Regions from separate parts of the Homo sapiens genome. Here region 1 is linked to region 2. The links are contacts of gene promoters, found by promoter capture Hi-C in blood cells and fetal thymus (Javierre and others, 2016). All regions are on one chromosome and are shown on one strand. Each heading gives the region's core, a stretch centred on a gene start or on the middle of the fragment in contact. The rest is flanking DNA. Distances are from core to core; before and after follow the strand shown.

Region 1 (6,842 bases), core at 879-3,378, 490 kb before region 2:
TTACATTTGTTCCACACTCACCTATACCATTCCTTCCCCAAATTATGCAAAGAAATAAGATAAAATTAAATGAGAAGAGCTTTAAATAGACTTAATAAACTAATTCATTTACACCAAGAAAAATATTTATTACATGATTTTTCCTCACCTAAGGATTTGCATACAAACCTAGAAATACTTAAGGCAGGACATATAAACAAATGGCATGCCAAAGAAAAACTGGATTCAAAGAGAATCATAATTTCAAGAAAACTCCTAAAACTTTAAAGAAAAATATGCAAAATATATAAATGTAGTCATTGTAACTATTCAATCAATCAGTCAATCAATCTTCATTGGATATTAACTAACTGTGAGACAGAAGAGATCTACCAAGGAGGTAAAAGTAACAGGAAGCCTCTGCTCACAGGAAGCTGACAGCACAGATGGGACAGAAGACAAGCTCTAAAGGAAAACAGGCTGAAGGGGCCTAAACCTGACAAGTGATGCACAAAGCACTGAAGAAGTGCAGCAGAGAAACCCCCCAACTAGGGAGTACCACGGAGGCTCCAAGGGATGGAGAGAGTTTAAATAAGGAGAGAGGATAAGAAGGATATTTCCGGAGGGATAGGTATGATCTTTAAAAGAAAAAGGCATGTTCATATTCATTTTGACTAAAGAATCTGGTACACATAGGGGAAGAGCTGGGTAGGAGTTACGCTCATAGTTTGGACCAGCTGTTGAGGGGCCATGAACATCTTGTTATGGACTGCAGGCTTTTATTTGGTGGGCAATAAGAGCCTTCGAAGGTTTTTTGAGCAGAGAAAGGGCAGGACTGAAGCTATGCTTCAGGAATGGACATCTGATCCCATTGTCTCAGACAGCCTAAAAAAGGGGCGGGAGAGAGACTACTGTGGATAAAGGGGAAGGAAGTCCTGAACTGAAGGGGCAAAGGAAATGGAAAGGAGATGGTTATAAGAGGTAAAGGAACTAGAATGGATAAGCTTTGTGCCTGAATGTGGAGGAATGAGGGGGGGGAAAAGAGCAACAAAGGATGGCTAAGGTTTTGAGCTTAGTTAACTGAGAAATGGACATATTATTACTAAAAGGAGGATAGCCAAAATAATCTATCTTACTGGGGAACACAAAGAGTTGTGTTTTCAACAGGAGGAATTTAATGTATTGGTGAGGCAACCCAGAGAACATGTCTGGGCAACTGCAAAGTATGGTAGAGCAGTCAGGACTACAGGTGGAAATTTAGGAGTCTCCTGAAAATGTTAAATGGGGATGAATCAAAATCAGCATTTCAACCAAGCTTGAGAGGGTAGCTGTACTTACACGACAAATAGAACTGTTCTGAATTTCTGTAACTCAATTCAAACAAAATAATGACAACTCCAATATAAGGGACACCTGAAAATATCTGGCATTTTATTCATATTGTTAAACATAACACTGACAATTTAATATGGTTCAGTCAAATATATAGAAGACCTAATAAAAGTATACCACTCTTTTAAAAAGTATCCTGTCTCTTTTCTTTTTAACAATAGTTATCTCACTTATGCCAAACCTTAAAGGCTAGCTTTAATAAATGGGTTAATAGGGTGTTTCCATATAAATTTTTAAAGGTAGAAGGAACGTTTACAGTCATTATTCCAACCTACTCATTTTATTGACAGATAATTTGGTAAAAGGTGAAGGAGAAAGCTTTCCTTACTTTTCACACTTTCTTTCCATAGCACCCACTCCCCTTTTAATTTAGTCACAAATTCAATAGTAAGAAATAAATTAAAAAATGGATAAAGGCACTCGTCCTCAGTCAAAAGCTATAACCGCATCAATACAATAAGTATTATTAGTGGCTTTTAAGAAGAGACTGTGGGGGCTGGGCATGGTCGGTCACGCCTGTAATCCCAGCACTTTGAGAGGCCCAGGCGGGTGGATCACCTGAGATCAGGAGTTCGAGACAAGCCTGGCCAACATGGCAAAACCACGTCTCTACTAAAAATACAAAAATTAGCATGGCATGGTGGCAGGCGCTTGTAATCTCAGCTACTCAGGAGACTGAGGAAGGAGAATCGCTTGAACCTGGGAGGCGGAGGTTGCAATGAGCTGAGATCGCGCCACTGCACTCCAGTCTGGGCGACAAGAGTGAAGCTCCATCTCAAAAAAAAAAAAAAAAAAAAAGAGACTGTGGGATTTAGATTTCACCACCCAAATCAGCATGAACATATAAAAATTCATTACAAGACTTAATGAAAAAACTCTGCTCTTTGACAAAGTTAACAATGAATTTAGAAGTATTTGTTACTATGAATTTTTTATTTTATTAAAACTTAAGTGCCAGTAACATGTGCTCTGGATTGTATATTGGTGTCAGAGAGCTTTGTTCTTAGAAATATGCACTCTTAAATTATCAGAATAATGATATTAAAAGTATTTACTTAAGAATTAATGTTTACTATAAAATATCCAAATTGAAATCCATGTAAGATGCCATTTAATAAGCAGATTTTAGAGGATGAGATGCTCATTAAGGACACTTCCTTTTTCCATTTTAAACCTGGTAGCGATATTTTTAAACCAAAGCTTTATGCATTTAATATATCAATTTTTCTTAACAATATTTAAACAACTCATTTTATCTTGGCTAACAATACAAATAGCTTCCATATAAAAGATAACAAAATCAAATATGGTGTATGTTTTTGAATCTTAGGCAGGGAAAAAAACCTCAGACTGAACCTTGAATAGAACTTGGCACAAAGGAGATGTTCGATAAATACAGAATAAACAAATGGATTAAAAAAATCATACAAATAAATCTTAACATATTCATTTATTAATAGAATAAAGCTCTTAAAAATATGTAAGAACAAGTGACCAAAATTCTAGGCAATAATCACCTTCACAATATATTAGAAATATATACATTCACATATTTTTTTATTTAGGTTTATTATTAAATATGTATTATTTTGGTGTTGAGGCACAATGTCATTGTACAATACTAATTAATACCTCAAGTAGTCAATGTTTGTGAGTTAATATATTCCATTCAACATTTTAATAACAGTAAACAAAAACAGCTCAGCTATGCAGTAAAATCCATCAAACCACACAGATGGTTATAAGGTTTTCATTATGTGGTTTCCATAGCAATCATATTGCAAACCTGGAAGCTTCTTGCAAATAAGCAGCTTGTATTTACATGCCTCTCAGCTGCAGCACAAAACTCTTCAACATGTGAAGTTATTATTCCAATCACACATTGTTAGAAGAATCATCAGGAGATTTTTTTTTTTTTTTTTGAACAGACAGGATGAAAGTAACAGTAAAGTGAGCTAAGTGCAGAAGAAAATTCAAACATAGTCACACATTTACTAAACTGATCAGTGAGAACAGCAGAAATGTTCTGGTAGTCATCAAAAGGTTTTAACAATAAACTCTGTCAAAAATATGAAACTTCCAGGAGCAATCAGACCCTGAAGAATTAAAAAAAAAAACAACTGCACCCACCCCTCTTTTTAATAGATATTTGGCCTTCTCTCTGAGTTAAGCAAAGAGAGGAAGAATGGCAAATAGTTTGAGTCTTCCCAAATCTTTTTAGCATTTGAGAAAAGGCTTACTGTGGGAAAAGTCATGGCCCTTTTTCCCCCTTTTTAATCTATTTAATTTACAAAATTGATCCAGTTCCATAACAGATGGATTATTACCCTAATAGGGATTGCAAATCTGTCTAGCTATGCAGTTTTTACAAAATGGGCATTTACGGCTTACTAATGTTCTTATCTTTAGGATAAATAACCAAAAAGAAGAGTGATAAGCAAATGGCACCATTTAGCTGACACTGCTTGAAAAAAGGTTGAAGAAAATTTGTTAACACCAACTCAAGGTATGCGATGTTCACATCAAGGCCGAGGACTGATTTTATCATCTCTTCCAGGGAGAAGAGGAAGATGATATAAAAAATCTTTCACTTACATAATGATCACCTTTCTCACTAAATACCCTCAGAAAACAGCTTTACTAAATTATAATGTACTTTAAAACATAAAACACAGAATCAAAAGTTAAGCTCTGAAATAAAGTTTGGATTTAGATCTCCACCTGTCCAGGCATTATTTAATATTATATATTTTTCTCAGGAAATGTGAATATTTATTGCTTAAATGTTCACATTATATGCATTTATATCCATTATGTAACTAAATCCTCCAACAATTCTATGAGGTAATTATAAGTACTTTTATCATCACCATTTTATGAATATGAAAAATGAATTTATGGAGCTTGAATAACTTGTCAAGGTTCATACATCCAGTTAGTACATAAGCTGGGATTTTAACTTTAGGCATATGCCTTAACTCTAAGCCACAGTGTCTCCTCCTTTATTTTCATTAAAATCTTCAATTTACAGGTGGATTGCTTTCTAAAATTTTACTTAAAATACTGTCTGTTTGTGGACTTTGAAAACATTTTCACATAGAATAGTAGGTTCTACACTATCATAGCATCGTATCTGAAGAACATCTTAAGCAAACTTTTTAGTGCTGATTTAGAAACAATTGCAACCAGGGCTGCCCAAAATATATGGTCTTCTTTCTCCTCTCCCAGTTCCCCTTCCTCACCTCTAGCTTTTAACACACTCCTCTGTTCCTAAAGTTACACACTATTTGGGCATTGCACACAAGATGCCCGAGTGGGAGATGGAAGAGGTGACATGGGGGAACAGAGGACACCACCGGCTAGTCCTAGTGGTAAAATGTAAAAGATAGAAGTACTGGGAGGATACATACAAATGGAACCCCACCCGCTCTTCTCTCCCATGACCTGTGGCAAGTCACAAAGGCTGGAAGAAGGGTTGGAAAAGTTAGAGTCGAATCTAAGGGGTATGGGCAAAAGATTCACAATTATGACAGCAAGGGAAAGTGAGCTCCCCAGGGGCCTATAAATCTAGAACTACTGGTAATATGAAGGATTTTTATATTACTATATTTTATTATACTTCTAAAGGACTGTTCTGTCTATTCAATAGACTATTATTTTACAGCAATAAAATACATATTTTTAAAAAGATATAAGCATGTGCCTTTTAGCATTATACAAACTTCAGAATGAATGGAAGGATAAAGATGACTGAAATAGCATAGTTAGAGTCATGTTTACTCTTATGGAAATTTGGCAAAGTGGGGCCTATTGTTACAGCTCTGTTACTCACATAAACTGGACACTGCTTCTAATTCTTAGTGTCATCTCTGTATTTCAAAGTAGGAAGAGTAAGTCTATCCCATAGCACTTTGAAGAAGGATTTGGGGAAGACAATGAGATAACCAGATTTCTCAGGGGAAAAAATGAAAAATTAGTATGCTGTATCAAGTTTATTACCTTAGGAACTGGGAGTTTTGCAACAATTTATTAATTAAGCAACCAGAAAGGTTAATGTGATATAAAGGCAAGAAAATAAGCAATAGTTGTTCAACCACAAAATCTAATTTTCACCTTTGACATTCTATTATTCTAAGGTTTAATATGAAAAGGTTATCACTACCCTTCAAAAGCAAAAGGAAATACCATTGGATTGTAGTAAATTTCTGTACTATGACATTAAAATTAATAATTTAAACACAAATCTGCTTTGGGAGGCCAAGGCAGGAGGATCGCTTAACAGTTTGAGTTTATAGTGAGCAAAGATCATGCCACTGCATCCTGGCCTGGGTGACAGAGCAAGACGCTGTCTCTAACAAAAACAAAAACAAAAAAATACCCATACACACACAAATCAGAAAATGTGAAAATAATTTTTCACATAGACATATTTGTTAATATCATGATTGGGATGTTGAGGAAAAAACTTGAACTCAAGCAAAGATCTCATTTGATAGAGTCAGGAAAAAAAATCTTAGAAGGGAAAGAAACCTTAGATAGAATCTTGTTCAGTTTCCTCATTTCACAGAAGATGAGGTAAACTGTGGGTGCTGAATGACTGGACCGAGGGCACACAGCTTGCACACTGTACCCTTCTCCCTGAAACTGCCTTCTGTGCACCGCAGACATTTCTGAAAAGTTATCTGCTGCTCGAGAAGCACTCCTTTGTTTCAGGAGCAGTCTTGTATACACTCGATCACCTACAGGCAATTAGGCAATTATGGCAAAAGGGAATGTATATAGGTTAAAAACAAAGTTTTCATAGGTCAGATTCGGTTGGTCAGAAGCGACTGTGAATTAGAAAATGATCCTACTCCTAAAGAGTACTAGGTATTAGGAAGTTATGAAATGGAGCTCCTTCTTGTCCCATTGAATTATTCACTGTATGATAAAAATTCTCCTTTACAACCCAAATTCTTGGCTTTTTATTAAAGTTTATAACAAATTGTGTAATTCTAAAATTCTTTTAGTCCAGGAAAGTCTGAATTCATTTATTTTTCACTTACAGTAACCTCTATCTGGCTCTGGATTTCTGATACAATTACAGCTCATTTTTTTTTTCATTTAAAGTAACCTTTTTCTTATTATTCTTGTTACAAAAGCAGTATCTACTCATTGCTGAAAGTCAGAAAATAGAGATAAGCAAAATAAATAAATAAATCATCCATGATCCAAGCATAACCACTATTAACACCTTCTTCTAGGCTACCTTTATTCAGCTACTGGTTTTTCTTAATTCTTATTTTAAATAAAATACCCCAAATGCATATGTATTCATTGTCCCCATACATTTCTTATCCCAAAAGTATATATGCATTTCATTGTAAACTGTTTTGAATCCTTTTTTAGAAAGTAAAATACATCAACTCAATTTAGATTTTTTTGGCTTGCTTTAAATTTTATTAGATTAAAAAATACTATCTAGTGACAAA
Region 2 (7,473 bases), core at 1,909-4,408:
GGATAGAATCCAGGGACCTGCACGTGCCAACCAAGGTTACAAAAGTCAGTTTGTATCGCATCTGCTACAAAAGGCTGCCCCAGCCGAAGAGTAGAGGAGCTGGGAGGCCTGCTATGGGCCTCGCAAGCCGTGGCGTTGGCACTTGGGTCTTCAGTGACCTTTCTGTGGTGAGCCAGATGTGTTTCTTTAGTATGACTTTTTCCCCCTTGTAATAAACCAAACGGGATGTTGGGCTTGAGCTCCTTCTGGCTTTTAAAAAGAGTGTGTAAGCTCATGTATGGCAGCCCCTCTCTGGCCCAGGACTGCCTTCCAACTCCCACCAGGGCTTGCTGAGTGGGAAACGCAGCGAGACACTGCCGGTGAGCTGGCCGGCTGCAGGCGGGCCGGCTGCTGCTGGTTCAAATGAGAGGATACTAACGCAGCAGAAGCTCAAGTTAAACGCCTCCTTGGCCCTCTCAGTTGGTCTCCTAGCCCCCAGCATCCCTGACCGACCCCCAAGGCTCCCATGCTCTCTAGACTTTAACACTGGAGTGTTAGGTTTCTCAATAAAATATTCCATTTATTGAGCGCCTCGGCTTTCCTGAGATTCCCCACCCCAAGAGATGAAGAAAGCGATTCAGTTGTAGTGTGGGTCGGCTTCCAAGCACTTTTCCTCCCTCGTGCTCATTTGCCTTCTTTCTTTTTTGCCATTCTTCCCAGCTACTAAATTTCTCCCTCTCCCTCAGGGTAACTTTGACCTAAATCTTCAGTGCCTGCTTGCCTCAACCAGGCCTTATGCAGCGGTTACACAGTCACCTCCAGAGCCCATGTTTTATTTAGGAGGAAATATTGCCCATTTCTACCCGGGTAATAACCTGCCAGCCCTATGGGGCCAAAGTAAACACCAGGCCCATGGATTAAGGCCTTCGGCAAGGATTAGGCTGCAGTTCACTAGGTACTCCTTCTGAGTAGGCCCTTGTAAGCAGTGAGAAATAAACTATTATGAAAAACAAGTTCCTAATGAAAAGATACCAGGTCCTGAGATCGAAACTGCTAGTAAACAATTTATATCTGGAGGGCACTCTCAATGCTTTCAAGACTCTGAATTATCCAGCGGTGGAGTTGGGCTGCAGTCCCACAGAGGAAAAATAAAGGCTGCTTTTACATATCTGGCTTTAGCAAAAAAAGAAAAAAAAATCAGAGCTTCTCATATCCATGCATTTATGCATAGTTAGAAAATTTTTCCACAAGCAATGATGTTCTTTTCCCATTCATCTTTAAGAATGTCAACATTTTCAGGGATATTTGATGTGTCTGTTTTGAATCTATCAGGTGCAATCTATTACTAAACAACATACTTTTAAAGTTTTCTAAATCCAACCATTAAGATGGCCCTTCCCCTGTTAGGGAAGTGTTGGGGCCTTTTCACACACCCTTTGAATTGCAATATTCTTAGATTTGTTCATAATAAACAGCCTCTGGCCTTAGAACTGGAGGCGGCTCTGGCATTGTAGGGAGGGCTCCCGCTGCAGAGAGCAGCTCACTGGGTGGGCGCTCATTTCTTGCCTTGTTGCTTTGCTCCGTCATAGTTTGGGAGCCAGCCTTCAACAAAGACTAGTAACTATGATAGGCAAAATTTACGCAACAAACAGGCAGTGCCTACTTTCTCTGGGATTCACCCCACTCACCACGCACTGTATATTTGGGAAAAGAAAAAGATGTGGGAAACTAATGGAAAAATAGTAGAAAAAATTAAATATAGGAGAAAGAGGGAATTTGAATCGATCCTTCAAAATGTAATGGAATTTTTTCATTTAAAATGTGTTTGATGACAACCCCAATGGAGTGATTGCTCCGTCAAAATTTATCCTCGGTTCCAGCTTTTTAAAAAAGTATTAGTATTTACCAATACATTTTTGCATATTTGCAAAATATCTTCTACAAAAGATCTAATTTTCATATGTAAGAAATTGCTGCGAAATTGCAGCTGGGTTTATAACAGCGTACTCCAAGTATGCAACACAGAGACTTGTCTGGCACTCTCAAAAATCACATGCGACTTCTCCGAATTGGCCTTTTTCGGAACAAAGGTTTTCTCCAAGCTGCCGGGCAGACATAGAGATGCACCTAGTAGGAAACCAGTGACCTCCAGGACTTCTGCCCCTGGGAATAAGCTCGCCTTAGCGGCCGCAGACTTCTACCACCCCATTGTTTAGAATGGAAACTTTGTTTTCCTCAACCCGCGATCACCTTTTTTTTTTTTTTTGCCCTCCCACAACCCCCTATCGCAGCACAGCTGGAACACTTTCGCCTAGATGCCTCTCATCCCTAGCCCATTCTATTCTGTGTATTTCTACAAAATCGAAAGATTCGCCTTGAGTGAAATGCTGGCGCAAGGAGCTAAAATCCTCAACTTTTCTACTTAGGCCTCCCCCTGCTTTCCAACCTTAGGGAGCAATGGGGTGGGGGCTCCCTACCGCGTCACCCCACAAACCCAGCCACGTTCCCGAGAGCCCTGCTTAGACATCGGCCACCTCCCCACTCCCGCCCCACCAGACTGAAATTGCTAAACTTGTGGCCTCTTACCTTGACACATTTCCGAAATCACTGCCAAGGGACAGCTGGCTTCTCCGCGCGGCGACGCTCGCGAGGCCTAGCGAATGCGCGTTGCTTTAAATTACCATACCAATCACTTCTTGAGGGTGAGTCCCCTTTTTCTGTTATGAAGGGGAGCGGGACAAGTGAAATAATGTACCGTGCTGCTCTTAGTATCAGAAGCGAACAAAGGCCAAGAATCATGCTGGGGTTCCCGGCTCCCCGGCGGCTTTGACATTGATCGGAAGTGCGCCATCTCGTGGCGGCTGCGCGCCTAGGTTGGGCCGGAGTTCCAGCCCCGAGCCGAGAGACGGAAACCAGCTCCGGGCAGAGAGAGAAGGAGAGAGGAGAGGATGTGCCCAGCCCGCTGCTATTGAGATCTCATTTTTACATCTAAGAAATCGCTGCAAAACCCCAGCCGGGTTTATAGCGGCGCATTCCAAATATGCAAATTGGCCGGCCCCGGACGGGTTTACGACCACATTGTCACAGCCATCGGAGGATGGGCTTTTATAGGGCTCAGAAATCAAACCCGCGCCCGCCCGCCGCCCGCCCGCGAGCAGTCCTCCTGGCTAGACTCTCTCTAGCAACTTGAGAGACTTTGGTTAATCTTTAACCATCCCAAAGGAAGTCTTTCCCTAAACCCAGGCTTCCCAGCCCGCCCCCTCCCTGCCCCCCAGGAGGGCCCTTGTTCATGTCTGCGTGTCTGCCTATCAACCTAGACATTCATCTCTAGATCTGTCCCACTACCCTTTCAGCTCGATTTCCCCAGTCGCGCCAGTTAGACAAACACACAAACAAATAAACAGAGTGGGGTCTGGGGCCTCTCTCCAAATGCGACCCTATCTGCTGCTCTGGCCCTGCCTGGGTGGCTGAAGAGAGGGTGGGGTGGGCAACAAAGGGCTCTGTCCTTTCAGCCCTTCTCCTCAAGGTTATGGGTGATGTCCAATTTTAAGGCAGAAGTTCAAAGGCAGCAAACAAAGAGGAAATCGGCATCCTTTTTTTTTCCCCCAAAGGGAAAAAGCAGCCTCAGCTGGGAGCTGGGGAGAAAGCACCCTTAGAGGCTCCTGGGAGTCTGCTCTGCCTTGGAACCCAGACCAGGCTCCCTCTTGTTGAAGCCTCCACGGGCCCCCGGACGGTCCCACTGCAGGCCTACCTGTCCTGAGGTGAGCGAGGGCAGCCTGGGGTCTGACCTGTTGGCCACCTCAGGCCCCAAGGCCCTCTCCAGGGCTGAGATCAGTCTGAGGGGATAAAGTCCTATATTCCAGGCCCTGAGATACCACCCAGGTCCCCACTTCCCACAAGGACGTAGCCAACCACCTTGGTTTCCTAAGCCTGGCTTCTGTTGTAGCCAATTCCTGACTCAGTCACCTTCTCACCCCCTCAGGGGCCTGATAACTTGCTCCTCAACTAGGTAAGGCATTTTTTGGGGGGGTGGGGGGAGGGGGGCAGACATTTGGTAGTAAAAGGCGATCAGGGAGAGGAATGTCACACCAGGATACTCAAATTTCCACCGTCTTTATTTTCCTTGTGCCCAGTTGCCTGTATAAGTGCTGCAACACACACGGTGGGTAAGAACCAGAATTGAGGACAGGCCAACACTCCCAGTACAAATGGAGCCAACAGACATTTCTTAACACAGGGAGGCAAAGGAGATTCAATGGGAGGGTGCCTGGCTTTCCCAGATGAGATCCCCAGGCCGGCCAGGCCGACTGCCTCTGAGCATTTCCCTAACTCTTTCCAAATGTTGCAAGAGATTAAAAAGACCATTCTCAATACCTTTTCCACCCCCTCCAACACCCTAAAGGAAATCAACTAATGGCAAAAGAAAAAAGAAAAAGAGAAAGAAAGAAAAGAAAATTGATTATGGTTCCTTTATTTACAAGTTTTTTGAACACCATCCCTGTATGAAGCATACATTCAAATATTCTTAGCAGTGAGCGAGTTTAACCACGGAACACTGTAAACAGATAGGGCCTTTAAATATTTTCATCATCTCTTTTCCCCTCTACATTGCATCTTTTAAAATTCGCTTTGGTTCCTTCAGGGAAATATATATATATATAATATAATATTTATCTTTTAAAATAATTCCACCTCACTCTCAGGCTCTTGGAAGGTCACCAGAAGCTTCCAAGCTCAGTTCAAGAGCCAATGAGGGCTGAGTGTGGTGCTGGAACCCGGTGTTTTGGGGGACTCAAGGCCCTCATAGCCAAAGCTGGGGACCTGCTGGCCAGGCCCACTGCTCTGCAGCCAGACACTGAGCAAATCCAAGTTTCATTACGTGTGGTGGAGAGTTTGCCAAACTGCCACACTCCACAGCCATTTCCTGCAGAGATCTCAGGGGCCAGTGGCCTGGCTGCAGCCTCTTGGCTTTTCCACATCTCCCACCTCAGGGAACAGTCCACTCTGTGTCGAGGCTTTGGGCCTGAGTGGCAGGCTGGAACCAAGACCCTCATTTGGTAGAAAGAAAAGCCAGGTGGGCTGTAGGAGGCGGTGGCTAGGAACTCAGGGCTGGATCAGTGTGGTGGGTGGCTAGGAGGAGTGGAAAGACACTGATGCCACCTGGAATCATAGATTTCTTTTCCCACAAGGATTTGCAGCCCTCTTCCACCTCAAAGCTACCTCCAAGTCCAGCCGCTGTTCACATTGGCTTTGGAAAGCAGCCTCATTCTGGGCACCTAGTAATCCTACCCCTTCCTCCTGCCCCTGTCCCCAAGCTGAACTGGGCTTGGAGAGCACACAGCTTTTTTACTCAGGGGTCCTGGGGGTGGGTAGGCTCCCAGTAGAGGGAGGGTGTGGTGGGGTTAGTCTCCAGGGGGTCTGGCAGGGGCCCAATCCCCAGTGGAGACCACACCCAGCCCGCAGCTCTGCAGGCTCCAAGAGTGAACCACCAGGGGTCCCAAACCTGTCATTCTAGCTGATGCACAGCTCTCAGAATCCAATGATTATTAGGAATCTTAACCACTGAGATCTTAATCAAGAGAGTCCCAGACCACCTCCTGTGGGGCTATCTCCATGCATCCCTCTCTTGCACACCTCTTTTCAAAAGTCACCATGTGGCTTGACTTTGTCAAGGGCAAAATCTGCATATTATCTCATGTGTATGAAGCCCCCCACCCAATTCCAGCCGCTGGAGTCTTAGAGGAGTGGATTTGCTGAGTAGTACTGTAAACGGTCTCTGTTAATTTTTTTTTCCTTCATTCTCCTGTTCTGAAACCAGATTTTGACTTGACGATCAGTGAGGTTGAGCATGCGGGACAGTTGCAGGCGCTTCTCTTTGTTAATGTAGACGCTGAAGAAGAACTCCCGTTCCAGCTCTCGGATCTGGTACTTGGTATAGGGGCAGCGCTTTTTGCGGGTGCGTTGGCCACCTGTGGAGGGAGAAAAGGCATGGGGTGAGCCAGGTGTGGGGGCTGCAATCCACCCCAGAGCCCATAGCTGAGGAGAAGGGCTGCCATGGGGACTGGTGGTCCAGCCCAAGCCCCGTCAAAGTCTGCCCAGGCCCCTGCCTTTAACGCTCCGACTGCATGCTTGGAACGGCCGCAGTTGGAGGCTCAGCCACAGATAAAAGCCAGCTCCCTAAATAGGCCCCCGGGGAAGCTGCTCCCGCTGCCCCCAGAACAGAAAGGAGAGCTTCGCACAGCAACAGGCGAGTTTGCGCTGCCTAAGCCTCTTTGAAAGCAGCCAAGTGGGGGTTGCCGGCTGCCTCTCGCAGGCCAGACTAAACAAACAGCCGCCTGCGGACATTTCACCTTCCAGCACCTGGGCTGCCCCTTCCCAAGGCAGTAAAGGCGGCTCCAGTCCCAGTCTTTCCCGGCTGCGGCCAAGACTGGGCAGTCCTTAACATCTGGGGCGGCTGCCGGGTCTTTGTCAGCCTGAGTCCTGGCCACCAGCTTCTGCCTCCCCGGCCAGCCTTCCGGCTCCGCCGAGGTGGGGAGGTGGCGGCGGAAGCCCCCTACCCTAGGCCTTCGCTGAGCACCACGGCCACACGGCCATCCTGCACACGGCAGAGCAGCGGCTCTATCTTAGGTAGGGTGAAGGGAAAGGGGGCTTCCCGAAGCTGCGGGCAGGCTCTACTTGCTCCCCCTTTAAAAAAAAAAAAAAAAAAAAAAAAAAGACCCACAAGACAAAAAAAAAATCGCTTTTGACAGATTGAATAACAATTGTGAATAACATGCAGTTGGGCAGAAGGAGGCACGTAATTGCCACCACGCCAGAGGAAAATGGCTTCCTTTGGACAAAAAGGCCAACTTTGGGTTAATTTGTTCTTTTAATATATTGCTAGAGCTAAGCGGGCTACTTTATCTGTTAAACGCGCTCCTAGCGCCGTCGTTAAACAGCGACGCCTTTGAATCCCGGCCGGGACTGGAGTCCCGGCGCAACACATGGCTTTTATAAAAATCTCCGGATTACCTCGCTATCAAAAGCTCCCGAAGCCCTTGCAGGGGGAATTTACAGGCGCCCACCTCCGGCTCCCCAGCCTGGAGCTGGCCCCGAGCGGGGTCGAGCTGCTGGGCTTGGGAGCTGAGAAGGGAAAAAAGGGAAAAGGGGAGTTGTTTTTTTTTGCAGGCATGCCTTGGCCGGTGGGTATTTCACGGCCAATTTCAGCACTCGCCACGTGATCCCGCCTTTTATAACAAAGTTTTGTTGGGGGAAACCTAAAGGCCCTTCATAAACCTTATATGCTTATAAAACAGCATATAAAAATTTAACAGCGGTGCTGCGCTAGATTTCCAACTCCCCTTTCATAAAGCGCAGGGCGCTGCCTTTATACGTACTGGAGCCGCCGGCCTTGTCCTCAGTGTGGCCGGAAGACGACTCGGGGCTGCTGCTGCTCTCGGGGCGCCGCCGCCGCTCTTTCTCCTCTGCTGCCGCCGCCGTCTCCCGGCAGCCGCC

The links. Contacts are between HindIII fragments. The CHiCAGO score rates a contact against its expected background, and 5 or more counts as called.
Region 1: a contact is called between a fragment that was not itself captured here and the fragment with the promoter of HOXA10-HOXA9 in region 2, in 3 of 17 cell types (activated CD4 T cells, total CD8 T cells and total CD4 T cells). The highest score is 6.0, in activated CD4 T cells.

The regions. Positions count from the first base shown.
Region 1 is chr7:26,691,185-26,698,026 of GRCh38, forward strand. The region is part of intron 9 of SKAP2 (src kinase associated phosphoprotein 2); the gene reads right to left. Among named protein-coding and RNA genes, the nearest start is that of LINC02860, 57 kb to the left of the region's middle. The HindIII fragment of the contact is 882 bases long and covers 1,688-2,569 here.
Region 2 is chr7:27,177,081-27,184,553 of GRCh38, forward strand. HOXA10-HOXA9 (HOXA10-HOXA9 readthrough) reads right to left here and starts at 3,159. Exons shown (of 3, transcript NM_001433944.1): 1 at 2,566-3,159. The coding sequence starts at 2,575. HOXA11 (homeobox A11) reads right to left here. Exons shown (of 2, transcript NM_005523.6): 1 at 7,356-7,473; 2 at 4,077-5,948. The coding sequence ends at 5,716. It also overlaps a transcript of HOXA10 not described here. RefSeq lists enhancers at 2,059-2,661, 2,662-3,263, 5,751-6,633, 6,634-7,473. The HindIII fragment of the contact is 5,233 bases long and covers 1-4,702 here.